Regions from separate parts of the Homo sapiens genome. Here regions 1, 2, 3, 5, 6 and 7 are each linked to region 4. The links are contacts of gene promoters, found by promoter capture Hi-C in blood cells and fetal thymus (Javierre and others, 2016). All regions are on one chromosome and are shown on one strand. Each heading gives the region's core, a stretch centred on a gene start or on the middle of the fragment in contact. The rest is flanking DNA. Distances are from core to core; before and after follow the strand shown. Region 1 overlaps BIVM (basic, immunoglobulin-like variable motif containing). Region 2 overlaps BIVM-ERCC5 (BIVM-ERCC5 readthrough). Region 3 overlaps BIVM (basic, immunoglobulin-like variable motif containing). Region 4 holds the start of ARGLU1 (arginine and glutamate rich 1). Region 5 has its middle 94 kb from the start of SLC10A2. Region 6 has its middle 45 kb from the start of SLC10A2. Region 7 overlaps BIVM-ERCC5 (BIVM-ERCC5 readthrough).

The links. Contacts are between HindIII fragments. The CHiCAGO score rates a contact against its expected background, and 5 or more counts as called.
Region 1: a fragment that was not itself captured here is called in contact with the fragment with the promoter of ARGLU1 in region 4 in 7 of 17 cell types (naive CD8 T cells, naive B cells, total CD4 T cells and 4 more); the score reaches 10.6 in naive CD8 T cells.
Region 2: a fragment that was not itself captured here is called in contact with the fragment with the promoter of ARGLU1 in region 4 in 14 of 17 cell types (total B cells, total CD4 T cells, naive CD8 T cells and 11 more); the score reaches 35.2 in total B cells.
Region 3: a contact is called between a fragment that was not itself captured here and the fragment with the promoter of ARGLU1 in region 4, in 8 of 17 cell types (naive CD8 T cells, total CD8 T cells, M0 macrophages and 5 more). The highest score is 13.2, in naive CD8 T cells.
Region 5: a contact is called between a fragment that was not itself captured here and the fragment with the promoter of ARGLU1 in region 4, in 1 of 17 cell types (total B cells). The highest score is 11.1, in total B cells.
Region 6: a contact is called between a fragment that was not itself captured here and the fragment with the promoter of ARGLU1 in region 4, in 2 of 17 cell types (total B cells and naive B cells). The highest score is 8.2, in total B cells.
Region 7: a fragment that was not itself captured here is called in contact with the fragment with the promoter of ARGLU1 in region 4 in 13 of 17 cell types (total B cells, activated CD4 T cells, naive CD4 T cells and 10 more); the score reaches 26.8 in total B cells.

Annotation. Positions count from the first base shown.
Region 1 is chr13:102,825,546-102,829,685 of GRCh38, forward strand. The region is part of intron 7 of BIVM (basic, immunoglobulin-like variable motif containing); the gene reads left to right. All of the region lies in intron 5 of BIVM-ERCC5 (BIVM-ERCC5 readthrough), which reads left to right. Among named protein-coding and RNA genes, the nearest start is that of ERCC5, 18 kb to the right of the region's middle. RefSeq lists an enhancer at 265-766. The HindIII fragment of the contact is 5,979 bases long and covers 1-4,140 here.
Region 2 is chr13:102,841,708-102,845,741 of GRCh38, forward strand. The region is part of intron 9 of BIVM-ERCC5 (BIVM-ERCC5 readthrough); the gene reads left to right. Among named protein-coding and RNA genes, the nearest start is that of ERCC5, 2.3 kb to the right of the region's middle. RefSeq lists enhancers at 3,255-4,034, 3,664-3,713, 3,924-4,034. The HindIII fragment of the contact is 8,959 bases long and covers 1-4,034 here.
Region 3 is chr13:102,808,174-102,812,365 of GRCh38, forward strand. The region is part of intron 3 of BIVM (basic, immunoglobulin-like variable motif containing); the gene reads left to right. All of the region lies in intron 1 of BIVM-ERCC5 (BIVM-ERCC5 readthrough), which reads left to right. Among named protein-coding and RNA genes, the nearest start is that of BIVM-ERCC5, 3.1 kb to the left of the region's middle. The HindIII fragment of the contact is 3,846 bases long and covers 940-4,192 here.
Region 4 is chr13:106,565,849-106,569,464 of GRCh38, forward strand. ARGLU1 (arginine and glutamate rich 1) reads right to left here and starts at 2,289. Exons shown (of 4, transcript NM_018011.4): 1 at 1,725-2,289. The coding sequence starts at 2,071. RefSeq lists a silencer at 1,451-1,750 and enhancers at 1,645-2,555, 2,231-2,350, 2,361-2,430. The HindIII fragment of the contact is 1,462 bases long and covers 1,542-3,003 here.
Region 5 is chr13:102,970,268-102,974,353 of GRCh38, forward strand. No RefSeq gene overlaps it. Among named protein-coding and RNA genes, the nearest start is that of SLC10A2, 94 kb to the right of the region's middle. RefSeq lists an enhancer at 437-636. The HindIII fragment of the contact is 203 bases long and covers 1,423-1,625 here.
Region 6 is chr13:103,019,686-103,023,753 of GRCh38, forward strand. No RefSeq gene overlaps it. Among named protein-coding and RNA genes, the nearest start is that of SLC10A2, 45 kb to the right of the region's middle. The HindIII fragment of the contact is 785 bases long and covers 1,602-2,386 here.
Region 7 is chr13:102,863,393-102,867,446 of GRCh38, forward strand. It overlaps BIVM-ERCC5 (BIVM-ERCC5 readthrough), which reads left to right. Exons shown (of 23, transcript NM_001204425.2): 17 at 2,275-2,519; 18 at 2,870-2,989; 19 at 3,240-3,453. It overlaps ERCC5 (ERCC excision repair 5, endonuclease), which reads left to right. Exons shown (of 15, transcript NM_000123.4): 9 at 2,275-2,519; 10 at 2,870-2,989; 11 at 3,240-3,453. Among named protein-coding and RNA genes, the nearest start is that of ERCC5, 19 kb to the left of the region's middle. RefSeq lists an enhancer at 2,296-3,495. The HindIII fragment of the contact is 3,824 bases long and covers 297-4,054 here.

The DNA of each region.
Region 1 (4,140 bases), core at 568-3,067, 3.7 Mb before region 4:
GTGTTTGAGGGACTGGCTTTCGAATATCCTGCTTCAGCCTACCTCCCCTGGTGTTCAGCCATGCTGGGCTCCTCGATGTTTCCCTGTTCTTCACAAGATACAGGTCATCCTTAGGCCTATGTGCCTCACTGATGGGATGCCCTGCTGTGGAGCATGTGGAATGTGGGATTTCATATCTTTGTGATTGGTGGATTCCTATTTATTTGTCCATCCTGGACTTCAGCGTAACAAATGGATATGGTGGTGTCCCGTGAAAACCTGGGGGGATGGCTTTTTCTTCTGCTTGCCAGGCAGGATTCAATCCCTTCGTCTCCTGGGTTGTCACAGCACCATGTGTGCCTCTGGTAGAACTTTGATTTCATTGCGAGGTAATTCTTGGTGCACCGTATGGTTTCATGCAGAAAAACTAGAGTTGCCTTTCTTGAGGATTAGGCCAAGTTCTTACTCATTTGTGCATCACAGTGCCTGATACTTAGGTGCTCAGTAGGAGTTAATTTAATGAATTCGCAATTGAGGATATGAGTCAGGAGGAATTCAGGAGATTGGGGTTACGAAACTTCTAAGAGAGAATTTTGTTGTCCATTCCAAAGCTGGCATTCTTCCTTTGCAAGAGCTCTCTCTTGTGATGTGGAAAGGAAAATGTTTTCTCTTTCCCTTTCTGTAGCTCATCTTTCCTTCTGGCTCCTACCTGCTCTCCCCTCCCCACACTCCCAGACACACACTCACCTGCACCTGTGTGCTAGATCTGCCCTGCTTTCCATCAGAACCCAGTGCGTCCTCCTTCTGTCTTCTGGAGTCTCTCAGTTGACAGTTTTTCGTGTGTTCCTAAGGACAGGAAATGAGCCAACTCATTGAATCTGAAGTTTTCAACTTTACATCTTAGCAGTGCCTTGAACATTGCCTTTTACATTATAAATAGTAAGAGATTAAGATTGTCTCAGAATCACTTCCTAACTGATTCATAGGGTGGCTTTATATCTCTTTTAATGGGGTGTGGACCAAAATGCATGTCTGGGAGTATAGAAATAATCACTGGAACGAATGTCATACTTACGTGTCGGATATAATGGAAAGCTATTACAATACAGTTCTCAGTCTTGTGTCCCAAGACTGCATTATGAGTAAGGCCCTGGGAGACACCAGAACAAGTCTCATAATTCCTTTTACTTGTTTTCTTTTTGCCTGCTGATTAGAAGAGGACTTCATTTGAGTAGTTAATGGCTTTTTCTATTAATATCAGCAGTATCTAGATGGAGTGAGAGGATAGATGAAGAGATGGGTCAGTCAAAGTAAAGGAAATTAAGGGAAGCAGGAAGACCCAGAGAAATTAGAATAAGAGAGAAAATCTATCAAAGAAACTCTGGGTATCGAGGAAACATCAGCTATATACATTTAATCAAATTCCCAAAGTAAGAACATATACTTTTATAATTAATGGAATGGAATAAAACACTAAAAGGGCCATGGAGAGAGTTGACTTAGGAATCACTATTCTGGAATTTTAAAAGATTTTTGATCAACTGTCTTGTCCAACTTTAAGATTTTATACTATAATTTTGCTAGAAATTCTCATTTGTAGATCTTTTGAATATCTGTACTTTATTTATTTTATTTTCCAATAGTCTGGTACCTCCCAAGTTCTTTGTGACTTATTTAAATGTAATGATTTGGTGCATGTGTTAACCAGTTCCCTTAATAATCTAGGATGTGTAGCATTGGGTCCCAATGACTTTTTTTTTTTTTTTAACCTATTTGTTTAAATTTCCTCCAGCATACATCCAAACTTTTCATTGAGGAATGGGATAAACTACCTATTTTCCTTAAATTTGTTTTCTTTTGTTAGGGGGTTGAGGTGCTTACTGTAATTTGAGTAAGTTTTAATATATTTTTCAAGTTTTATTCCTACTTTCAATTTTTTTTTTCCAGAATATTCGACTTTTTACTGCTTTTCTGTGTGCATTTCCTGAAGGATAATTAATCTGCGTACGCCTCCTGGAATATTTTTGTCTTTACCTTTGCTAATTGGGGGACCCAGTTAAGCCCTGCTTCATCTCTGATATGTTCCTTGGCCACCTTAGCCCTGGATTCCTCTAAATTCCTCTAGTACTGATTTTTCACACCCATCATTTTCCATTTGCTATGTGCTATGTTTTATTATGTTTCACCTGTTCAATGTGAGTGTCCAGCTCCTTGACCATAGGGACTGTTCTGAGTAGCCCTTACATGCTAGATATGATGCCCACGACATTACACGTTACCCTATGAATTCTGATGGTATTCAGGCGGTAGGGTGGTTCATGTGTAAAGCAGACGTCTCTTCCGTTCTCTCCCATTGTGGAAGAAAGAGTTGCAGAGATAGGCTTTCTGATTTCTCTCTGGGATGTTCACTGGTGAAAACCATTGTCAGTGGCGCTATTTGTTTAAAAACACTTTTAAATCTATCTTCTCTTTGTGCTTAAATTGTTTTTTAAGGACCACTAAGCCTGTTTTTCACAATGGGCTTTACGTTTTCCTGGGGACCACGCTGTTGTGATTCAGGGACTCCCCGGTGCTTATGTCCAGTGGGCTCTTAGTAACTGTAAACTAAGCACACTAATGGAATAAAAGTGAAGTCCAGGGATTTTGATAAGACTTAGCTGTTAATATCAGTATTTTTTTCAGAGATGTCACTAGTCACAATGAAAATTTATTCTAGGAGTTGCCAACATTAGGTCTCTGTTCAGATAACTTCCGAGTATGGGTTCACTTAGCCACCAACATTTGCACCAGGCAAGTCCAGACTCATTTTTTTAATCAGCTAGCTTGAAAATTGCATTTATATTCATGTATTTAGTTTTTTCTAGTGGGTATTGCAGTTCATAACTTTTGCTTAACAGAGAAGACCCGTCTCTGGCCTCATTCCTGTATAACTCACACATCGCTTCACCATGATTGTTGTTACCAGCTTACTGAAGCACCTCAGTACATCTCCGGTGGACAATACATTAGTATTCTGTTTTCCTCATGTACTGGTTTTCTCCAATTAATATTAGACACAAATAATAAATCTCTTGAACATGCAGTGCTAACATACCCCTTTCCTCTTTAGGAGCTGTTTGGTGCTTGCTTACAGCATAAACTGCTTAGTGTCATTCCAAGCTGACACAAATTGGCCTTCCCCTGCTGTCCTCCATGTACCAGTTGTATTTAAGATGTCAGGGGAAGCTGGCATAGTGGCTCACGCCTGTAATCCCAGCAGGTTGGGAGGCCGAGGTGGGTGGATTCCTTGAGGCCAGGAGTTTGAGACTATCCTGGCCAACATAGTGAAACCTTTTCTCTACTAAGAATACAAAAAATTACCTGGGCATGGTGGCGTGCACCTGTAATCCCAGCTACTTGGGAGGCTGAGGCACGAGAATTGCTTGAACCCGGGAGGTGGAGGTTGCAGTGAGCTGAGATTGTGCCATGCACTCCAGCCTGGGCATCTTTTTTTTTTTTTTTAAAATAAAAAAGATGTCAGGGGAATAAGGACCTTGCAGAGTAATGTTAGATTGCTGGATTACCTATCAGAGTTTCAGAAGCTATTCTTGTCTTTGAAGGTGTAAAAATATACTCTATAAGTTCTTATGGAGTTATCTAGCATTCCTCTATAGATGATCAGGGTCTACAGGACAAGCTCATACTAAGCAAACTCAGAATGTCAGAATGTTAACAGAGTAACTTGAAGTAAGAAACATAATCTCAAAGGGACCAGAATTCTCTTATTGGCTGCTCAGAATACCTGCTCTTCTCCATGCAGCAGGCCAGTGGATTCCTGTAGTTTTTTTCTCCTTTCTCTATGCCGTGCAGATCATGGCTCTGCATTTGGTGGTGGTTGCTTTGTTGCTTAAGTTTCAGATTTTAAAGCTATACTGAAGTACAGACTCAACTTCATTCTGAATTTAGCTTCCCTCAGTAATACATTTGTGTCTTCTCATACACAGAATTACTTTCTTGGACAACTACCTTAATGTGTTGAATGCTGTATTTACTGGCTCGGCACAGTGGCTCACACCTGTAATCCCAGCACTTTGGGAGGCTGAGAGGGGCGGGACACTTGATTTTGGGAATTTGAGACCAGCCTGGCCAACATAGTGAAACCCCGTCTCTACTAAAAATACA
Region 2 (4,034 bases), core at 1,535-4,034, 3.7 Mb before region 4:
AATAGGAAATAGAAAATTTGATTCTTTTATTAGCTTGAACCAAATGAAGTTGTCATCTTTGTAGGTCAAAAATGGTTGAATATTAGCAATTTCATACAGTTCAACTGAATATTTCAGAGAAGACGTAGGTAGGAAGAACCAAGAGGAAAGGAGAAAAATGCAAAATAAAATAAGAAATTAAAGGATAGGGAGACACCTAGAAAAACAGGATGAGTTATTCAGACTATTGACCATAATCAATTTTTATAAAAGTCTTGATCTGTTCTAAGTTTGGCTTCCAAGTTTGGCTTTCCAGTTATTAAGAGCACAATGAGGTTTGAGTTTAGTGAGATTATCTTTCCCGCAGAAGCTGTAAGCAAGAGTTACTGCATACTTCTCTTAGAAGATTAGTAAAATTCCCTTGATATTTGATTTCTTGGTCAGCTCTTAGGAATCCTATAGATACAGTGAAAGTTCAAATACTGGCTCTGCACTTACAAGCTATATCACCTATAGTGATATAGGCAAGTTAAGGTTAATTTTTTTTCTGTGCCTATTTCCTCATTAGTAAAGTGGGGGTAATAGTATCTACTTTATAAATGAATTTGAAGAATAAGCTAATACATGTAGTGTTTAGAACAGTGCTTTGTAGATAGGAAGTGCTATTTAAGAGCTTGCTATTATTCCAAAAGATGTGAATTTTACTATTCAGAGTCTTTAGAGAGAGCCCTTTAGATAGCATCTTAAGGAGCTAATTCCTTTTAAATCACATATGCACCCCTTAGTTGCTGTTTCTTCAAAAGAATATTTCATATTCAAGAATGTTGCTTTATTTTTTTGAGACAGAGTCTCGCTCTATTGCCAAGGCTGGAGTGCAGTGGTGCTCTCTGCAACCTCCGCCTCCCGGGTTCAAGTGGTTCTCCTGCTTCAGCCTCCCGAGTAGCTGGGATTACAGGCATGCACCACCATGCCCGGCTAATTTTTGTATTTTTAGTAGAGACTGGGTTTCACCATGTTGGCCAGGGTGGTCTCGAGCTCCCGGCCTCAAGTGATCTGCCTGCCTCGGCCTCCCAAAGTGCTGGGATTACAGGCGTGAGCCACCATGCCCAGCCTTTGCTTTGGTTTTAAAAGTACTTACAATACTCAAATGCCTATGTTGGCTATTTATTTTTACCCAGCTCACAGGCAGAAAAAAAAAAGTTTATTTAGATCAAATTCTGCAGCAATTCCTTTCCCTACTGCTATTACTGTTAAAGAACTGTGTGCCATCATTAGGCCAAGTTGGTGCAGCACCCAAAATACTTGCCAACTTGTCTTCTCCCAGACTGGAGGGGCTCAGGCAGCTCTTCTAGGATCCATCACATTCTGCATCTCAACTTTACCAATAACACTCCCACCCCTCCTGTACCAGCGATTCACTCAACAAACTAAATTATACACCATTACCAGGTCAGTTCTTAAATAGCTCAGCAGCAACAAGAACAACAAGATGTTGGTCGCATTCTAATTTTACTGGCAGAAACTGAGGGTTTCATTGGTGAAGAAACCTGCCTAGGATCACAGTGTCTTAGTTTCTCAGGGCTACCATAACAAAACACCACAGACAGGGTGGCGTAAACAACAGAAATTTGTTTTCTCATGGTTCTGGAAACTAGAAGTCCAGGAGCAGGCAGGTTTGGTTTCTTCTGAGGCCTGTCTCCTTCACCTGCAGAGGGCCGCCTTCTCACTGTGTCCTCACAAGGCCTTTCCTCTGTGCCTATCATCCCTGGAGTCTCTCCCTGTGGCCCAATTTCCTCTTTCTACAAAGACACCAGTCAAATTGGATTTAGGGCCTATCCTAATGGCCTCGTTTCAATTTAATCATTTTTAAACGCTGTGTCTTCAGATAGTCACATTCTGAGGTACTCAGGCTTCCACAGATGAATTTTGGAGGACACAATTCAGACCATAACACAAGGCAACATATGGTTCAGATGAGATCTGAATGAATGATCAGCCTAACCTCCAAGCAGATTCTTTCAGCAGACTGCAAGGTGCACTGGAGAGCTTTAGACTAGAGGCTTAAGAGGTCATTTAGGCAATATTTACAGAACTGCTAAGTGCCAGGATTGGGGGATGTAGCAGTCACGAAAATCGTTCTTCGTTTCAGTAAGTTTACAGTTTACCATGGGGAAGAGACAAATACTGAACAGGCAGTTATATTACTCTCAGTAAAATAACAACTGGGAACAGTTTCTGGGGATTACTTTACATATGGAGGAAATGCAAAAAACACTTTGTCAGGATTATTCCTGTAGCAAATTAGATGTGACTAGGTCAACCAAACATGGCCACTGTGAACCATCTTATTGAGCATAGAAGTGGTTTTGCTAAAAATGGATTTCTCCACGGAGCACGGTGGCTCATGTCTGTAACTCCAGCACTTTGGGAGACTGAGGCAGGAGGATTGTTTGAGACCAGTTTGGGCAACAAAGCAAGACCCTGTCTCAAAAAAAAAAAAATCAGGGCGTGGTGGTGGGGGCCTGTAATCTCAACTACTCGGGAGGCTGAGGCAAGAGCATCACTTGAGCCTGAGAGGTGGAAGTTGCAGTAAGCTGAGACTGCACTACTGCACTCTAGCCTGGGCGACAGAGTGAGACCCTGTCAAAAAAATAAAAAATAAAAAAATAAAAAAAATCAATTTCCCGTATACTTCTGTTATAAAGAAGTCTTTAAAAAATTGCCTGCTCCCTTAAGTCAGCCTTTTCACTGAGTTTAAATTTCGTTCCAATTTGAACAAATATGGATGCTAATACTATCCTTTATAGTTACTAGTGCTAAGTGCGTTGCATGTAACACCTTGAATACTTACTGAAGTCTGCAAGGTTGGTTTTATGCCCTGATTACTGATGGAGACACAAATTCTGAACAACTGTGACTTCAGGGATGCTAAACACCATAGTGAGGCACGATGCGGGGATTTGAATCTTGGCCTGAGGGTTCCAGAGCTGTGGCCTTTTCTGGGGTTACTCTGTTAATTGATTTCTAGTCCTTTCTGATCTACAAGCCGCGGCATTATAACTTTTAGATGCTGAAGAAAACTAAACTATATGTCAAGGATTAAGGCTTGTGAACCCCCAAAATTTGGGACAGGTCTCAGTTAATTTAGAAAGTTTATTTTGCCAACGTTAAGGACGCGCAGCTGTGACACAGCCCCAGGAAGTCCAGATGACATGTGCCCAAGGTGGTTGGGGCACAGATTGGTTTTATACATTTTAGGGAGACAGGAGACATCAATCAACATATGTAAGTACACTGGTTCCTTCCAGAAAGGTGGGGACAACTCGGAAGCAGGAAGGGCTTCTAGGTCACAGGTAGATGAGAGACAAAAGGCTGCATACGAGTTTCTGATAAGCCTTTCCAAAGGAGACAATCAGAATATGCATCTATCTCAGTGAGCAGAAGGATGACTGACTAGAATGGGAGGCAGGTTTTGCCCTGAGCAGTTCCCAGCTTGACTTTTCCCTTTTGCTTAGTAATTTTGGGACCCTAACATTTTCACAGGCTTTAAATTTTATTATTCTTTAGTTACTACGTGCTAGCATATAAATAAATAGTACAAAACCAAGAAGGCATCCACCTTTTGGTTGTCTCTTCACGTGTAAAACAACACTTTGTGTTAAGTATCTTCACACACGGCGGCGCAAAGGTAGAAACCGATACTAAAAAAGCGTGTAGAAAATAGTTCCCAGCCTGGGCAACACAGGGAGACCTCATTTCTACAAAAATAATTCGCCAAGCATAGTGGTGCGCACCTGCGGTCCCAGCTACTTGAGAGGCTGAGATGGGAAAGTTGCTTGAGCTCGGGCAGCAGGAGTTCCAGGCTGCAGTGAGCTAAGAATGCGCCACTGGACTCCAGTATGGGCGACAGCGTGAGACCCTGTCTCAAACAAAAACAAAAGCCCGTTACTCCACCAAGAAGGCGCTTTTGCACATTGTTTTAATGCTTAACGCCTTCAGGATGCCAGCGTGACGGAAGCAAGTAACCACCAAGGCATCACCACTGGCGCTAAACT
Region 3 (4,192 bases), core at 1,613-4,112, 3.8 Mb before region 4:
ACCCAGCAAAGCCTCCATGTACCACCAAGTGGGTTGTGTACTGCTCAATTTAAGAGGATGCTGTTTACCGAGGTTGTGCATAACTTTCACAGTTGCAATGGGGTGGTCCTATGGCAGATAGAAATACTTTACACTTCTTTCTTTTGAATTCAAAGTAATACAGGAATTTTATGAGGCAGGTACTGTTAGCCCCATTTGTAGGTGAAGAAATTGAGGCTTAGAAGGGATAAATCTCTAGACCGAAGTTGCAGAGTTAATAAGAGGAGGTCAAACTAGGATTTGTATTTACTTCTAGTCTTCTCTGATGATTTTATAAAACCTTAATGCTTCTGCTTGTTTATCTGCAAAATCAATTTGTTTCATAGAATTTTAGGTAAATTTGTAATTCTTAAGGGTAGGAGGGGGATTTTGCTTTTTTTGTCTAAATTTGTAGGTAATGAGTCTGCAATTTTCTTTTTGTCTAATGCCTTTGGCCAGTTTTGGAATTAGGGCTATGCAAATCTTCTAAGAAAAGTTGGGAAGTGTTTTTTCCTCCTGTTTTCTGAGGATTTTCAGAGAGATATTAAAATCTGTATTTATAATTATGGAGTTGTCTTGATTTCTGTTAATTTCTGACAAATTTTAATTTGTCCATGTCATTTAAGTTGTCAAATTTGGGGGCTTAAAGTTAATGTTATCCCTCTAACATCTAAGGAATCTTTGTTGACAACTCCTTTTGCATCCTAATACTGGTAATTAATTTATTTTCTCTATTTTTTTTAAAACTGATCAATCTAGCTAGGAGTTTATCAATTTTGTTAATCTTTTCAAATAACTAGCTTTTGTTAATTTTCTCAATTGTTTGTTTTCTATTTCATTGGTTTCTGCTCTTTATTATTTGCTTCCTCTGACTTACTTTGGGTTTATTTTGTTCTTCATTTTCTGACTTCTTAAGATGGAAGCTTAGATCATTGATTTTAGACTTTTCTACCATAAGCATAGAATACTCCAAATTGCTAAGTACTGCTTTAGCTGCAGCTCACAAATTTTGATATGCTTATTATTATTACTTAATTGGAAATATTTTCTAATTTCCTTTGCAATTTATTCTTTGATACATGTATTACTTAGATGTATGCTGTTTAATTTCTAGATATTAATAGTTTTTCTAAATATTGATTTCTAGTTTAGTTCCATTGTGGACAGAGGGCATATGCTCTCAGTCTTTTTAAATTTACTGAGACTTGTTTTATGACCCAACATATGGTCTATCTTGGTGAATGTGCCATGTGCACTTGAAAAGAATGTGCATTCTGCAGTCATTGGGAGTATCTATAAATATTAATTATGTCGAAGTGTTTGAAAGTGTCATTCACATCTTTTGTGTCTCCGCTTAACTTGTGTCTTGTTCTATCAATTACCAAAAGAAGGGTGTTAAAAATCTTCAACTATGATTGTGAAGTTGTCTTTTCTCCATTTAATTTCTTTTTTAAAAACTAATACATGTCTAATAACAGAAAATTTACTGTCTTAACCATTTTTACGTGTACAGTTTAGTGGCATTAAGTACATTTACGTTGTTGTGCAACCATCATCACTATTCATCTCCAAATCTCTTTCCTTTTCTTTTCTTTCTTTTTTTTTTTTTTCTGAGACAGAGTCTCGCTCTGTCGCCCAGGCTGGAGTGCAGTGGCGCGATCTCGGCTCACTGCAAGCTCCGCCTCCCGGGTTCACACCATTCTCCTGCCTCAGCCTCCCGAGTACCTGGGACTACAGGCGCCTGTCACCGTGCCCGGCTACTTTTTTGTATTTTTAGTAGGGTCGGGGTTTCACCGTGGTCTCGACCTCCTGACCTCGTGATCCGCCCGCCTCGGCCTCCCAAAGTGCTGGGATTACAGGCGTGAGCCACCCCGCCCAGCCCTTCTTTTCATCTTACAAAATAAACTTTGTACCCATTAAACAATAAATCCTCATTCCTTCTCCTCACAGTCCCTGGAAACCACAATTTTACTTTTTGTCACTGTGAATTTGACTATTCTAGGTACCTTATGTAAGTGAAATCATATAGTATTTGTCTTTTTATGACTGGTTTATTTATAGCCACCCCTGCTCTCTTCTGGGTGCTATTTGCTTTGGAATACTTATTTCCATCCTTTTACTTTCAGCCTATTTGTATCTCTAGATCTAAAGTGAGTGTTTCAGAGACAGCATATAGTTAGCTAATTTTTTCTGTTTCTGTTTTTGTGTGTGAACCCACGTATACAAAAACATATTTTTAAAAAAATGCATTCTGCCAGTCTCTATGTTTTGAGTGGAGAATTTAATCCATTTACATTTGAAGTAATCACTGATAAGGAGAGACTTGTCATTTTAGTACTTGTTATTTATATGTAAACACTCTGTTCCTATACTGCTTCGTCCACACTTAACTTTCAGTTATTGATGTTATCAAATTACAAATTTATATATTGTGTGTCTGAAAACATAAACTAATAATTTTTATGTATTAATCTCTTAAATAATGTGGAAAACAAAATGTGGAGTTACAAACCAAAGTTATTATAATAATAGCTTTTTTATTTTTATTTTTTATTTTGAAATAGGGTCTTGCTCTCTTGCCCAGGCTGGAGTGCAGTGGCACGACCATGGCTTACTGCAGCCTTGACCTCAGGCTTAAGCAATCCTCCCACTTCAGCCTTCTGAGTAGCTGGGACTACAGGTGCACATCACCACGACTGGCTAATTTTTAATATTTTTTTGTAGAGATAGAGTCTCACTATGTTGCCAGGGGTGGTCTTGAACTCCTGGGCTCAAGCAATCCTCCTGCCTCGGCCTTCCAAAGTGCTGGGAATACAGGCATGAGCCACTGCTCCTGGCCTACTACTAGCTTTTAAGCTAATAATAATTTCTCAAAAATGTATTAGTCTCATAAATCATATAGAATACAAAAACTGGAGTTGCAAACTAACAAAATAACACTGGCTTTTATAATTGTTCGTGTATTACCTTCACTGAGGTAAATTTATTTCTTCCTATGGCTTTGAGGTACTAGCTAATGTCCTTTCATTTCAACCAGCAGGAATCCTTTTAGCATTCCTTACAGGGCAAGTCTAGTGGTAATAAACTCCTTCAGTTTTTGTTTGTCTGGGAATGTCTGAGTTTCTTCTTCACTTTTGAAGGACAGTTTTGCTGGATTTAGAATTCTTGTTTGAATTTTTTTTTTATTTCAGCACTTTGAATATATCAGCCCACTTCCTTCTGGCTTCCAAAGTTTCTGATGAGAAATCTGTTGATATTCTTATTAACAGTCCATTGTATGTGATGAGTTGCTTCTCTTGTGTTGCTTTTAAGAGTCTTTGTCTTTTTGCAATTTTTAAATTTTTTATTTGATACGGAGTTTTGTTCTTGTTGCCCAGGTTGGAGTGCAATGGCACGATCTTGGCTCACCACAACCTCCACCTTCTGGGTTCAAGCAATTCTCCTGCCTCAGCCTCCCAAGTAGCTGGGATTACAGGCGTGCGCCACCATGCCTGGCTAATTTTGTATTTTTAGTAGAGACGGAGTTTCTCCATGTTGGTCAGGCTGGTCTTGAACTCCTGACCTCAGGTCATCCGCCTGCCTCAGCCTCCCAAAGTGCTGGGATTACAGGCGTGAGCCACCGTGCCCAGCCTTGCAATTTTATTATAACATATATTGGTGTGGGTCTTTCTAAGTTCATCCTATTTGGAATTTGTTGAGTTTCTTGGATGTTTATATTCATGTTTTTTAAATCAAATTTGGAAAGTTTTTAGGCATTATTTGTTTGGATAATCTCCTACCCCTTTTTCAGTGTCTTCTCCTTCTGGAACTTCTGCAATGTATAGGTTGGTCCACTCGATGGTGTCCCCAGGTCCCTTAAGGTCTGTTTACTTTTCTTCAGACCTTTTTTTTTCTGTTCCTCATACTCAATTATTTCAGTTTTCCCATCTTCAAGGTCACTAATTTTTCTGCCTGCTCAAAACTGCCTTTGAATCACTCTAGTGAGTTTTTCATTTCAGTTATTATATTTTTCAGCCCAAGAATTTATTTTTGGTTTTAAGTTTTCTATCTCTTCATTGATATTTCCATGTTCTTCATACATACATCTTTCGTTAGTTCTTTTGGCATCTTTAAGATAGTGGTTTTAAAGTCCTTGTCTAGCAAGTCTGCCATTTGGTCTTTCCAGGATGGTTTC
Region 4 (3,616 bases), core at 1,039-3,538:
CGTATTTCATTCCTGAATTTCTTGTCTGCTATACATGCGAAACCTGCTAAATGCTTCTATTTATTCTTTGCATACCAAGTTTCTTTTCATTTTTCCTACATATCTTAGCTTTCTAGTGAAAGGCAAGTTATTACTCTTTGGAGGTCTCCTTTGTTTTCACATGTAGAAATTATCTCAGCAATGTCTTAGGTAACTTTTCATACATCCATCTGTTGATAGCTATTTGAGATCTTTACAGCTAAGGGCCTTGTTGCAGACCCAAAAGTTGTATTCTACAAAATCAAGGTTTAATTTGAAACGATTACTTGAACTTTGTTTTCATATGTATCACTGACAGTTCTAAGTACAGGAAAAATGAGTGTTGCATGTGTTTTAAAGGAGTGTTGGAAGCAAAACAGCTCCAGGTACAGCTTCCTCTGTAATATTAGTGCTCCAGTCCTACCTTTTAGTAACTTTGGTTTTAGAAACAAGCTGTGTGTGTGTGCTGGAAAATCTACCTAACACAAACCCAACTACAGAAAACTACAAACCACGCAGTCAATTCAGCACACATATACTCGCCTCGAGAAAATCATAAATTCAGTAACGTTCTTGCTTCATGAGCACTTTCTAAATATTCACTGAAGAACTGACCAAGTACGGCTGGTTCAATAGGGAGTTAGTAGGACTGTTCAAATCTACTTTTCAATGCGGTTTTTGGAAACTGAATACCCAGAGCATCAAAGTACGATGATCATAAAGCAAAACACACAACAAATCCCTAAATTTTAAAACCCAAAAATTCCTTTAGTTTGGGATTATTTATCCACATCTACTTTCATAGCCAGAAATACTTGAGAGCTGACATTTTCGGAAACACACTCTAACTCTAGTTTTCACTAAATATCCTTCATGGGAGCAACGCCAAAATAAAATCAACCCTTCAAGTGTCTTCTGAAGAAGCACAGTGTAAGGGAAACAACAAAACTGCACGTGTTTGCTACAGGAATAGAAAGCAAGTTAAAAAAGCGGTAGGCTTTGGGATGGTGATTACACAGGTGAATTCAAAGGTCAAAAAACTCATCGCACTGTACACTTAAGGTCTATGCTTTTTTTTTTTAACATCTCAAGGAAGGGGTGAGGGTGTAGGCTCAAGGGGAAAAAAGCAATCCCAACACCTTAACAACAGGAATACACTAAAGTGAAAATGCATTTTTCTGGCGGACCACCTAAAGTGTATGATTCCCGAGATTAGTTAAGTCCTGTCCCAAATTTGAGCTTCAATAGAATGCTTCTGGCCAGCTGTGATTCGCATCTCAAAGGTTAATTCCCTTCTCTCTCCTCCTCAAGCCGACCAGCAAACGCTCACCACCCTCCACATCTGCAGGCCGGCTCGCTCCCGGCCTCACAAGCCAACGCAGCTCTCCGACCTCACTCCGAACTCCACCCCTACTTCCGGGACACCACTCCTCTCTCGCGCCAAAATCGCCTTCTCTTAAACCCTTTCTGCTCAAGCCCTCGAATTTTCCATCCCGAACAACTTCTGGGTCTGTCCCACCCCAAGCTTTCCAAACGCCAAGCCTGCCCGCCCCGCCGCCGCCTCTCCGACCCGTTCCCGCGCCCGGTCCCCAGCCCCGGACCGTCCCCGCCATTCTCCCGGCCCGCACCGTCCCGCCCCGGCCCCACGCCCTCGCCCCGCGCCCTGCTCTCCGCACGCCCCGGTCCCTCCCCGCGCGGGCACTCACATTTTTCGCTGCCGCTCGAACTCCGCTTTCTTCTCCTCCTCCTCTCGCTTCTGCTTCTCGTCCAGGCTGCTGCGCTTGCTCACCGTGCGCCCGAAGATGTCGATGCGGTCGGGCGGGGACGAGGCGCGCTCCCGGTCCCGCTCGCGCCGGGACACGGCCGTGTTGGTGGAGCGCGAACGGGACCGCGACTCCCGCCGCCGGTTCCGTTTACTTTCCCGAGATTTGGAACGCTTCCGCACGCGCTCCTTGTCCCGGGATCGCGACCGGGACCGGCTGCGCTTCTTGTTGTGCTTGCTGCTCTTGGTGTGCTTGGAGCGGGACGAGCTCCGGCTCCGAGACCGGCCCATCCTTCCGGGAGACGCTCTAACCGCTCGCCTCAGGCCCCTCACGCGGCCAGTTCCCCTCGCCTCCGCCTTCGGACGCGGGCTGGCGGTTCTACCGAGGCCGGAGGAAAGAAAGGTGTCGGCCAACGGACTTTATGCCTTTTCCCGGCGTCTACAGCTGCCACGAAGGCCGCCTCCAACGAGAAACCCGTAGCGCCAGGCGCCCCTAAGATGGCAGCTGCGGCTGCACCGGCCGCCCTTCCCACAATGCCCTGCGCGAAACGTGCCGAAGCGTGGGCCCCGCCTCCTGACGATTTTTGCCGAAGGCAGGCGAGCGCTTCGGAGCGGACTCGTTTTTTTCCGCCAGTCTTGGCGGAAGCCTGAGACGCAATAGATGGAGACTCTCCTTTTCGCCTTGGCGTACTCTTTTTTTTTTTTTCCTCCCTGGTAAGATGCCAACGCCTGTTGAATGAATTAAGCACGTTTTAGTGGGATTTAAGTCCGGCCTCGCAGAAGTTGATTGATTGCATTATTTTCTAGGAGCTGGTCTTGTGGGGCAGCCCTAAAATGTATCTCCAAGTGACCCTGCACTCATCACTTGCTGCCTTGGACTTAGTTTCCTCATTCGTAGAATGGAGACACCACACTTTCTGAAGTGCTTATGAGACTTGCAGGAGGTAAGTAGGCAGCAGGTTTTGATGAATGTAACCTAATGCTTACTATAGGGCTTAATGTGCCTTCTAAATGCTTTAATGTATTAACAAGTGCTTAATTCTTACAATTCTGAATTAAGTACTACTATTATCCACGTTTCAGAGATGAGGACCCTGAGGTCCACAGAGGTTAAATAAGGGTCACACAACCAGTAGGTGACAGAGCAGGGACGTGAACCTAGATCATATTGTGCAAAGCCCTTGCACATAACCAGCAAGCCCTCCTCAACCCTAGCCACGAAAAGCTTCGTCCCTATGTGGCACAACAAACTGTGTCATTGTTAAGACCTAAAAGGAAAAGGCAATGTTAATATTTGCAGATGACAGGAACCCTTGAAAATCTAGGTGCCTCAATTTTAAAATTGAGTGCAATAATAAAGCTTAAGTAAGTAGAAGAAAAATTAGAATTATTTGAATAAGCAAAAACATATTAAAAATGAAATAATATTTCCTCCACAATGGCAACAGAAACCATAAAATACTTAGGGATAAACTTTAACAAGTTACACAATCTTTATTATAAACCTTTACTGAAAAGGCAGTAATAAGGCCCTAGTAAATGTAAAACATGCTGTATTCTTAGGTGAGTAGTCAGTATCAAAAATACTGTCAATTCTTCCCAAGTCAAATTACAAAATTAGTGCAATTCTCATGAGAGTCCCAAATTCTCTTGGGGATATGTGTTTTAGAACTAATTAATTTTAAGTTTTATATGGAAGATCACATAATTAATTATCAAGAAAACTTGGAAACAAAGAAGAGTAGTGTATTAGTCTGTGTTGACTGCTGTAACAAAATATCATAAACTAGGCAGCTTATGAACAACAAATTTATTTCTCACAGTTCTGAAAGTTGG
Region 5 (4,086 bases), core at 274-2,773, 3.6 Mb before region 4:
TTATCTTTTGAGATCTTTGGCAATAGAATAACCATCAGTCCTAATTGCTTAGTGTTGCCTGACGCTCTCTTTCCATTATGTGAATTTATATTTTTATCTTCTTGACTTTCAGTTGCTGATAGGTTCTCCGTGATTGACTTATTACATTCCTGTTTGGCCTACATTTACTTGGAGTACACCTGTATCATTTTGAGAGAGACCTTCTTAGTCTTGCTAAATTGAAAGCTTCATTTATTTACTTTTTTATTTTTGTCTAGAGTTGGACTGGCAAGGCCTCTGAAGTTGTGAGTTGACTTCGCCTAGGCTGCTTGTTCTTCAGTCTCAGAACATCCTTAGCCACAGGTCATCTTTAAGAGCAATTTACTTATTTCATCTTGGTGAGAAAGAGCACTTAACATGAGATGGACCCACTTGACACATAGGTGAAATATTGCGTAGCAGATCTCTAGAGCTTATACTTGCTGAGCAGCAGGTGTTCACCTTTGTAACTGTGGGAACTTTACACTTGTGGAACAGTAACTCTCTGTTTCCCTTTCTTGTAGTTTCTGGCAACTGCCATTTTACTTTCTGTTTCTATGAGTTTGACTATTTCAGATCCCCCACATAAGTGGAATCACTCAATATTCATCCTTCTATTGCCACAGAAAAACTTGCATCAACTGATGCTGACTTGGATAACCTGGGATTTTTTTTTTTTTTTTTTTTTTTTTTTTTTTGGTACTGAGTGCAATGGCTGGACTCAGTACCAAATGGCTGGAGTGCAATGGCGCAATCTCGGGTCATTGCAACTTCCGCCTCCCAGCTTCAAGTGATTCTGCTACCTCAGCCTCCCGAGTAGCTGGGATTACAGGCGCCCACCACCCCCAGCTAGTTTTTGTATTTTTAGTAGAGAAAGGGTTTCATCATGTTGGCCAGGCTGGTCTCGATCTCCTGACCTCAGGTGATCCACCCGCCTCGGCCTCCCAAAGTGCTAGGATTACAGGCATGAGCCACTGCGCCTGGCCGGATCACCTGGGATTTTAATCTTTCAGCCTAGCACAGTGCCTGGATTGCAGGAGGCATTCAACATATACTCTTTGAGAGAGGTCTTATTTAGAGTCACTGAATTAAAAGATTTATTTTGCCTGGGTGTGGTGGCTCACATCTGTAATCCCAGCACTTTGGGAGGCTGAGGCAGGCGGATCACCCAAGGTCAGGAGTTTGAGACCAGCCTGGCCAACATGGTGAAATCGTCTCCACTAAAAACACAAAAATTAGCTGGGCATGGTGGTGGGCGCCTGTAATCCCAGCTTCTCAGGAGGCTGAAGCAGGAGAATCGCTTGAACCCTGGAGTGGGAGGTTGCAGTGAGTGAAGATTACGCCACTACCCTCCAGCCTGGGAGACAGAGCGAGACTCCATCTCAAAATAAATAAATAAATAAAAGCTTTATTTATTTACTTTTTGCCAAATAATAAATTTTTGTATGCTTTGGATGCATGGAAGAAAATGATTGTGGCCAAATATACATGTTTACCATAAAATCAATTTATTGCTAAGTACTAAAGAGTAAAAAAATTACAGATGCGACAGTAATAACAGCAACATTTATCCATTGAGCCTTTCTTGCCTGCCAGCCCTGGTGCTAAGCTTCACGTTCATTTAATCCTCACAACAATCCTGGAAGGTATGTATTAGAATCTCCATTTGTAGATGAGTAGCAGTATTTTAAAGTTTGGAGAATAGCCCGGAAGGTCACAGTATTGTTGGAACTGAGCTCATGCATTGGAGATTATGGAATGATTTGATCAGTGTTACTCTGCTTCCTTCGTTGTCTCCAAGCTCTGATGGAAAAAGTTGCAGACCATCTTAGTCACTACCTGGGCAAGCTTTTCTTTTTTTTCTTTTTGTTGTTTTATTTCAATAGCTTTTGGGGTCCGTGTGTTTTTTTGTTATATGGATGAATTATATAACGGTGAAATCTGAGATTTTAGTGCACTCATCACTTGAGTAGTGTACATTGTACCTAATGTGTAGTTTTTATCCCTAGCCCTCCTCCCATCCTCTCCTTTCTGAGTCTCTAAAGTCCATAATATCACTCTGTTTGTCTCTGCATACTCATAGCTTAGCTCCCACTTGTGAGAGCTAAGTGAGAACATATGGTTTTGGTTTTCCATTCCTGTGTTACTTCACTTAGAATAATGGCCTCCAGCTCCATCTGAGTTGCTGCAAAAGACATTATTTCATTCCTTTTAAAGGCTGAGTAGTATTCTGTGGTGTGTATATACCACATTTTCTTTATACACTCATTAGTCGATGGGCATTTAGGTTGGTTCCACATTTTTGGGTAAGCTTTTCTTTCATAACATACATCTATTTGGTCATTTACTTTTAGTTTTGCCATTCAGGGTGACAGAGATATTTTAGATGCTCTGATTATGTTAAAGAATAAACCCCAAGAAAGGTGTTTATTGAAATGCAGTTAGTTTATCCAGACATATTCCTGGTTCTTAAGCATGTTTCCTTGTTCAAGTTCAACCGTTTCAGTTTGGTTTCCTGCTAAACTTGGAGGAATCAACTATTCTCTTAGAGTAAGGATTTTGCTTCTTGTCTCTGAAATGATGGACTTGAGTGCCCTGTGAGACATAAATTGCCAACATGCATCCTGGCGTCCTGGAGTGAGGTTTAGAGGGGAGTGGTAAGACTGTCCTAGAGTAGTTTCAGTGGAAATGTCTTTCTCTCTCCTCCACCCTCTCGCTATCGTGTTTTCTCTCTCTCTGCATTGTATGTTGAGGAGCACCAATCCCATTAGTAATAAAAATCAATTGCACTGAAAACAGCTGTGGTCAGAATAACTCGAAGGAACCATTCTTCAAAACCCACCGCTGCATGTCAAACCCCAGACTTCACAAACAGGGCAGTAGTTTGATCTTAAATTATTTGAATTTACCTTATATTCTTTGGCTGTAAATAAATAAAAAGCCCCTTTCTTCCTAAATTTAAATCAGAACTGTTACTGAGTTAATTTAAGAAATTTGCTCAAGCTAATTTGCAGTCATTAATTTCATGCAGATTTTTAGTGCTTTGTAAAAACTGCCCATGAAGAAAATCCACAGACAGATATTCTGGGTAAGTGCAGAGACATTAGGTTTCAAACAGCGGGCATGGGCATAGGCACACCTTTTAATTACACTGAACTTATGATGGGTCAACATTTCAAGGTTGATCTGAATCGTGCGTTACCTTGAGCACTGTCATCACACTCAGGGCAATCACTGACCTTGAAGGAAAACAGTTAATAATGAATAGCAACTCAGCAATTGGTCATGTCACAAGATAACTGGGAGAGAGAGGGAGGAGAAAGAGAGAGAGAGAGAGAGACGGAGAGACAGAGAGACAGAGAGAGAGAGAGAGTTAAAAACATGAAGCTAATGATTCCTTGGGCTTTGTGTTCTTTTTCCAAGATACAGTGAACATGCACTCAGCCATCCATCCATATTTTCTTTCCAACTTCCCTCCAGCTGTATTTAGGAACCCTGTGTCTGGCTGTGTCTTTTGTTTTGTGACCTAAACTGGCTTGTATGGGAATAAAACTTGCCAGCCTTCTTCCTTGTGCATGTTAGAGAATGAGTATTGGTTGAATGGATTTTACCCTCATCTCGTTAGGATTATGCTCCAAGAAGTGTGAGTTAGTTGCATCACAACTCAGAAACTCAAAACTCTTAAAAACTCATAATTTTTCCTCTTTTTCTTTTTAAAAATTCCTTAAAATAAAAACCTCTCCTTACTTTCTCTAGGATGAGGAAATCATCCTTAACATAGAAAGATAATTATTCCACATTATTATTATTTTTATATTCTTTTCCTCATCTTCTTTGTGGTGGTACCACATTTTTTTCTTAAAGCACAAAATAATTTTTTTCAGCCTCATGCTAGTACTGAGACGTACCTGTTGTTAAGACGATCGGTTACAAAGCATGTTCTTAAATAAAGTACCTGTCTTTGGAAAGCAAGCCCCCCAGTATGGACTGAGTGGGGTGAGCAACGAAGGCAAGGTGGAGGCACAGATCACCTGTGCACCTCAGGTGTGGTCTCTTCCAGGCACCCCC
Region 6 (4,068 bases), core at 744-3,243, 3.5 Mb before region 4:
TTCAGCTTATTGGGGGGACATAAATGTTCAGTCCATACAGGGCTCCTTCAGTCCCTCCCGTCCCTTTTCTGTTACTCCTTGGTGTGCACTGTTATCTCTTGTTTCCTCATGGCTAACACCTCTCCTCTCTATGCAGTGATTTTTCTCTGTATGCATCTGTTTCTGCTGCTCGCCAGCCTTCTCCCTCTCCTGATTCCTTTTCTATCTCTCTTATTCAGAGAACTTTCTTCTTTCCTTGTATTGCTCAAATTGAACAGATCCTTTAAGGTCCACCTCAAATCACACCTGTTCCAAAGCACACTTTCTAATCTCCAACTCATAGGACTATCCTTTCTCTGAACTCTCGCAGTTATAGTCACACTGTAATTTAACACTTAATCATTCTCTAATTCTTTTATAGTATTTGTGAAATATGTTATTGGAATTTATACTCTACAGGGCACTTTCATGTTTGTAGTCTCATGTGATTCTGTCAGTGAGGTAGAAATTATTATAATTTTTATTTATGCACAAGAAAATGGAGGCTCAGTGAGGTCAAATGACTTACCACTGGTTATAAAACTCGTAACTCAGTGTACAGATGCAGTTTTCTGACTCTAAGACTTGTAGTTCATCTACTCATTGCTTACTCCATTTTATGAATCTTTATACAAGTTTTCTTTTTTCTTATAATAATTTAGGTTATCTTGTGTTTTATGAATCTCTACAGGTAGGATTAAATTCTTTTTTGGTGTGTGTGCATTAGGGGGAAACGAATGCAGTTAATTTCTATGAGGGAGTTTAGAGGTTTATTCCAATTGTATTTCTTCATGCTAAATCATAAACTAGGGAATTCTGTAATAAATTGTAGTCTATTGAACACATGGAGAAATAGAAATAGTGACTTAATTTCTGCATTCTATCTACTAGATTAGACAATTTCTCTTTATTTTTTTCTCAAGTTAAAATTGTCAATCAGAAGCTCTTGGCAAAGACAACACATTTATTCAACAAAGTAAGATATCAATTTTGTTTTGTTGCAATTGCAGTGTGTATATCTAAGTTCCCCAGTACGTGATCTCAGGATATTTTGGCCTCCCACTCAGAAGATGAACTCAGAAGGTGTAGCCATTAGGTGGGGGTGAGGGAGCGTGGAATAATTTAACAGTGGAAACCCACCAATCACACCTGACCCCAATCCGTCCAGACATAGTGCAAAGAAACCACTTACAAATTCTTTTAGAGTGATACCAAATCAGAAACATTTAATGTGCACTGAAAAAGCCAAGTTAAGAATCAAGTTCAGACGTTAGAGGTGAGATATCTACAACTAGAGCCAAGTTAGAAAAGGGTTAGCCCTTTATGTGGCCAAATTAAACAAGACACAATTGAGGCTAACTCATCCCTCTAGGCACTTATAAAACCTACACGTGGGAACTTTTGAAAATGAAGTTAGCACCGATTGTGTCTTATTTTGCTTGGCTGTTTAATGGGCTAACCCTTTAGGAATTTGGCTCTGACTGGAGATATCACACTTTTATGTGTCTGACCTCCTCCTTCAACTTTCCTTTTTTTGGTGTATATATAGAATTTAAAATATCAGATACGGTATTACATTATTAAGCTTAATAACAGTAAAAGATAAAAACAAAATATTAAAAAGAACAGAATGTGCTTAAATAACAATGTAATTAGACTACCGGGGACATACTGCCTTCTTTGTGGTCTACTCACATTTAGGAGTTGAGTTGGATAGTACTGGTTAAGATCACCAATGAAGCTATTTGGGAGAATTCCCAAACCAAGCCTGTTCACTCACTCCCATTACATGCATAGGCAAACATGCTTAAAAGGGGACCGCAGGGTACGTGGGCATAACAAGGCATGAGTTAAGAGGTAAACAGCAGACAGACAATGTACTTTAGTCCAAAGATAGCTCCTGTCCAACTGCCTCAGTGTTTTAAGCTAATAGATTGTGTGTCATTACTGAAGGGCTGGCAGCTCCTGGGGCTACAGGCACAGGTGGGAAAGAGGATGTTGAGAACATAATAAAGAATTGCTTTCAAGGGTGTTTTCCTACTAAGATGTTCTGTGCTGTATCTGTCAGCAAACTTCCACTGCTTTGAGGCTGTAAATTTAAACACCTACTCGTCAATGCAGTGTTGGCTGCATAGATTATCCAAGAAACATTTCATGGCATTTGATTAACTTGTAAATCTTTATTGCAATGCAATAATGAAAGCATCTCTACTGAAATCTCCTGTATACCCAATTTTGGGCCACTATCCCAAGTGGCCTCTTTCTGTGACACATATATATAGAAAATTATACTTTATTTTTGGTCCAATAACCAAGTAATTATACTTGACTGTTCCTTTAACAAGGCCTTCAGTTGAAAAGCACATAAAGCTTAATAAGTAAGATGTATATTTATCCTTATATTTTCTGGACTTAGGTCCTACAAATTGGTGTTCTTTTTTTTAAACGTTTATGTTTTCCAGCATTGGTGTGCCTATGTGGGAAATAGCCTCAACTGTGTATCATGATCTGATTTAAGGTTTTATTCTTAATTCATAAGGTTGATTATAACACAAAATTGATGAAAGGATGCTTCCTGCTATCAAACATTAGGCAAGATTCTGTGCACTGAGCTCAGGAAAGGGCATTGTAAATATTTACATCTTAATTTTTACTCGGTCCTTTTCTTATTGTTGTGCAGCCAAGGGGAATTCTCTTAAAAATTTGTTGGCATTTTTTATTTGGCAGTTTCATACTGAGGTAAATGTTGGCAAATGAACAAACAGCTTCTGTTCCAGCTTCTCTATGGTTCCATTCCAGGTCAGTCCCAGGATCTTGGCATGATTTGAGAAGTTCCTGCTGCCGTCCACCATTTCTGGCCAAGGAGACCTCTGGGAAGCCAAGCTCAGGAATGTAGCCATTCCACCGAACCATTTCCATGGAATGACTCATTTGGAAATCTGTTTTTCCTCTGTGAGATTTCCTGGATCTATCAATTACTGAAATTCCTAAGCAAAAGATACCCTTTCAGGACTTGACCATTGTTTTTTGTTTGTATGTGTATGTTTTTTTTTTCTTAGAAAACTGAGGATGGCTTTACTAAACATCTGTTGCCTGAGTCTATATTCTTCAGGACTCACTTCTGAAAATCTAAGATTCCTTTAAAGTGGTTCGTACTGTTAAATGACTGAATCTTCACTTTTCTATTTCTGCAAACCTCATACAAATTATTTTCAAAATAGACAACTAAAAATTGTAGTATCTTGTACGTGATGTTTTAGATTATGCATACATTGTGGAAAGGCTCAATAGAGCTAATCAACAGATCCATTACCTCAGATACTTATCCCTTTTTTTATGGTGAGAACACTTAAAATCTATTCTCTTAGCATTTTTCGAAGTATAGTACTGTTATTAACTATGGTCACTACATTGTACAATTGATTAGGAATATATTCTGCCTCTCGAACTGGAATTTTGTATCCTTTGACCAACCTCTCCCCAAACCCCCATGTATCCAGCTCCTGTTAATCACTATTCTACTCTCTACTTGGATTAGTTCGATTTTTTAGATTCCACATATATGTGAGATTATGTGGTATCTGTCTTTCTGTGCCTGGTTTATTTCACTTGATAGAATTTCCTTCTTGTTTAAGGCTGAATAGTATTCCTTTGCATATATTTAGCATATTTTCTTTATCCATTGATCCATTGATGAACACTTAGGTTGATTTGGTATCTTGGCTATTTGCCAATAATGCTGCGGTAAACATGGGAGTGTAAATATCACTCTGACATACTGATTTCGTTTTCTTTGGATATACACCCGGTATTGGGATTGCCAGATCCAATGGTAGTTCTATTTTTAATATTTTTGAGAAACCTCCATACTGCTTTCTATAATGACTACACTAATTTACTCCCACCAACAACGTGAAAGGGTTTCCTTTCCTCCATATACTCACCAGCAATTATCTTTCATCTAGTTGATAATATCCATTCCAATAGGTGTGAAATGATATCTGATTATAGTTTCAATTTACATTTTCCTGATGATGAGTGATGTTGAGC
Region 7 (4,054 bases), core at 959-3,458, 3.7 Mb before region 4:
TTATGAACTTTAAAAAGTTGGAAGAATATTATAAAACACTGGTTCCTTCATCCAGTACCTCAGTGGCTAGCATGTTACCACATTAGCTTAGAATTTCTCTTGGTCTCTCTGTGGCCCTCTATATGTATATCATATATCTCCAAATCTGTATACATATGTATACCATTGATCCTCATTATTTGTAGATTCCATATTTGCAAAATTGCCTGATCACTAAAATTTATTTATAACTCCAAAATCAGTACTCACCGCAATGTCTTTGTGGTCATTTGTGGACATTTGCAGAGTTGGGGAAAAGCTTGAGTTGCCACACTGTCCCCTGCTGAGGTTAAGCAAGGTGACACTCTGCCTGGTTCCCGTGTTCTGAGAGAGATGACCAGAGGGTGGGGACAGTAGGGGATTATGCAATGGAGAGAGAGCAAGAAGCTCCGGCCCCAGGCCAGTTGGACCAGATTTGAATCCCTATTCTGGCACCTGTTAGCGTGGCAGCTTCACACAGGTCACTAATTTGTTTCTTGAACTTTGTTTCTTGTTTATAAAATAAATGGAATCTATTAAGATGGTGGTTTTTTAGGATTTAAGATAATATATATGAAATGTGTTCATATATATGTTATATATGCATATGTGTGTATATGCACATAGATATGTTTAGGAGCAATGACTCGGTATTGGCTAATTTAGTGTTCACAGAGACTTCATACGTGATGGCCACTTTGAATAAGAGAATCAACCACACACACACACACACACACACACACACACACACACACAATTTGTTCCTGGTATCTGCTAGTTTTCTTCATTCAAATGTTACTATTTCCCTTTTGTAATTAATAAGTATTTTGTGGAAAAGGAATTTTTGGAGCTATATAAATATGCTGTTCCTGAACAAACTTCCACCCACTTGTTAGCATCCATTGATGTTTACCTGAATAATTTGTTACTACGTTGGTTGCCAAATGATGGTTTTTCTAACTCCATCATTCCTTATATATTATTACTTGACATCCTCCTATGAGGAAGATCTTTTCCTTCTCCCCATTTATTTTTATTATTTTTAATCAGTGTAGACTCCTGTATTCCTATTTAGTGAGTTATAATCCAATACTGTCATAATTTACTTTGTTACTCAAATTATCACAGCTTTGGCCATTGGGGCTCCTTCTAATGGCTTTCAGCAGTTTTTTCATTATATTTTGAGCTTTTCCTTGCTTTCTGGCCAAGCTGTTTCAGGCATATGTTGTACTTTCTCTGCCCTGGTCCTGGAACCAGCCATTTCACCAGGGAGCTCTGGTTCCTTTCAGTGGAGCATGGGGTTTAGACACCACAAGCTGGATGTGAGTGTGCTTATGGATCCTGAGGTATAACTGTCTCAGGCCTTTTCAGCAACAGTGCCAGGAAGTATATTTATGTATACATATACATGCACACACACATCTATATTTATTTCTATGTCTATCTGTACTAAAATCCATGAGTTTATACTGACATCTGCAATTCCATGGGGTTCAGTCTAGCCTCCTGCTTCTTTATAGTTTCCCTAACAATGAGAAACATTGCTCCCCTTATCCTCAATACATTTACATCTGCTTATTCTCCCTGGATATGTAACCATCTCCCCCTCCCACTGGCCTCCTCCTTGGCCCTGCTCTCTTCTTTGCTTCAGCTGTGTCCTTGGTGCCAGCTCCCAGTCCCTGAGAGCCCCCTCCTCTGTTCTGATTGTCTCCTTAAACCCAGCTGGACAGGCCTTGCCAGCCCTCTCCACCTACAGGGAAGGAAGGCAACCATTAAATATATTTTAAGGAGAAGGAAAGACAGTAAGACAGTAAGAGAGGAGAGAAGGGAAGTGGAAGAGGAAGAACTATTTCTTAGTCACAGCTTTATTCTGTGCTGTGTAAATAGCATAAAAACATACTGAGCAACTTCCATGATTGTTTATATACTTTGATAATCCTCCTTTTTGAATTTTTAAAACAATGTCAGTTAACTTAGAACATATTTATATAAAGCGAATATACAAATCTTAAGAGAGTTTCCTACTTTCAAAGACAGTGCCAGTTTACCTAATTGAAAAGGCTTGTTTTGAAGTTACAGGCATTTGTGATTACATTTATTTATTAATAACGCTACTATTACATGTATTCTGTTATAGTCATATCTTTCCTTTTTAGGATGTAGCATTTTTCAGGTTCCTCCAGAAAGCTCTTGATGATTGCAGGATCATTTTAATGTTTTGATTGTAGATGAAGTGACCTTTTAATTTTGGTACAGGAAGTTTCATTGAAGTGCAAAGTGTGATTAGTGATGAGGAACTTCAAGCAGAATTCCCTGAAACTTCCAAACCTCCCTCAGAACAAGGCGAAGAGGAACTGGTAGGAACTAGGGAGGGAGAAGCCCCTGCTGAGTCCGAGAGCCTCCTGAGGGACAACTCTGAGAGGGACGACGTGGATGGTGAGCCACAGGAAGCTGAGAAAGATGCGGAAGATTCGCTCCATGAATGGCAAGATATTAATTTGGTAATACCGTAACATTGTGTTTCGACTTCTTGCTGAGGAAGCCAGGTTAAGTAGGTTTTGAGTTTTAAGGAGTTGGTGGATGAGTATTTAGTAGCTATTTGCAGTACATCTTGTGGTTGCTGATGGCTTCATTTTTGTGTAGGTTACTGGCTGGGATAGACTCCGTTTTCCATGTGGTTTAGTGATGAATCTCTAAAGATATTACAGAGTCTTGGTTAGACATCCAGTGGAGTACTTCCTAAGGAGAAAGAGCTTATTGGTAATTTCAGTCAGACTAAATGCAGGCTTTTTGTAAACAAAACTCATTTGGATTATTAATATAAATCTATAAATGAAAAAACATTTTATAGGAGGAGTTGGAAACTCTGGAGAGCAACCTCTTAGCACAGCAGAATTCACTGAAAGCTCAAAAACAGCAGCAAGAACGGATCGCTGCTACTGTCACCGGACAGATGTTCCTGGAAAGCCAGGTGGGTGCAGGCAGCTTGGGTTTCCTTTACCACCTTCTTCAGACCCCTGGGGGAATGCACTGCATGAAGGGGGTATGCACTGTGCCCCCTGGTGCTCAGGGCCTGGTGATGCCGTTCCCTGGGGGTCACTGTGTGTCCCTAACTCTGCAGGAATGAATGCATTACATGAAGTGGTAGGCACTGCTCCCCCTGTGCTCAGGGCCTGGCGGTGCCCTTCCCTGGGCGTCACTGTGTACCCCTCACTCTGCAGGAACTCCTGCGCCTGTTCGGCATTCCCTACATCCAGGCTCCCATGGAAGCAGAGGCGCAGTGCGCCATCCTGGACCTGACTGATCAGACTTCCGGAACCATCACTGATGACAGTGATATCTGGCTGTTTGGAGCGCGGCATGTCTATAGAAACTTTTTTAATAAAAACAAGTTTGTAGAATATTATCAATATGTGGACTTTCACAATCAATTGGGTAAGACTTCAGAGTCTTTTTGATTACTTTCTGACATTTACCTTCAGAGTTTGTCCTAGGAAGTTTTCTTTCCAAGGAACTAGTTTGATGCATTGATGGAAATTGCAGGTCTATGCAAATTTTTATATGAGTGATCTTTGGCTTATATAGAGGAATAGGATTTTAAACATTTGAATTAAGGAATTAAAGTCCTAGTATGTTTAGGTAGTTAATCAACTGACTTAGTTAAACTTTGACTAGTTACCCGAGATCTCCACAGTGAACAAAAGGTGGTGGAGAGGGGAAGCAGGCCGCGCCTGGGCCTGTATTCGGGTTTCTGGCACTGATCTTCTTCTGTTCATCCAGCAAATATATGTTTGGTGACTCCTATATGCCAGTTGTTCTTAACAAGAGGGAAGGAACAGAGAGTAAAATAGTAGGAGAAACAGATGATAAGCAGATACATAAATCATAATTTGACAGTTGGTGGTAAGTGCCAAATAGAAAAATATAACAGTAAAGGAGAGGAGAGAGTGAACTTCAGGCATCGAGAGTGCAGGTGCTGTTTCAGAGAGTTGTTGGGAAAGGCTTTACTCGTGTAACTTCAAGGCAGGGACCTGCA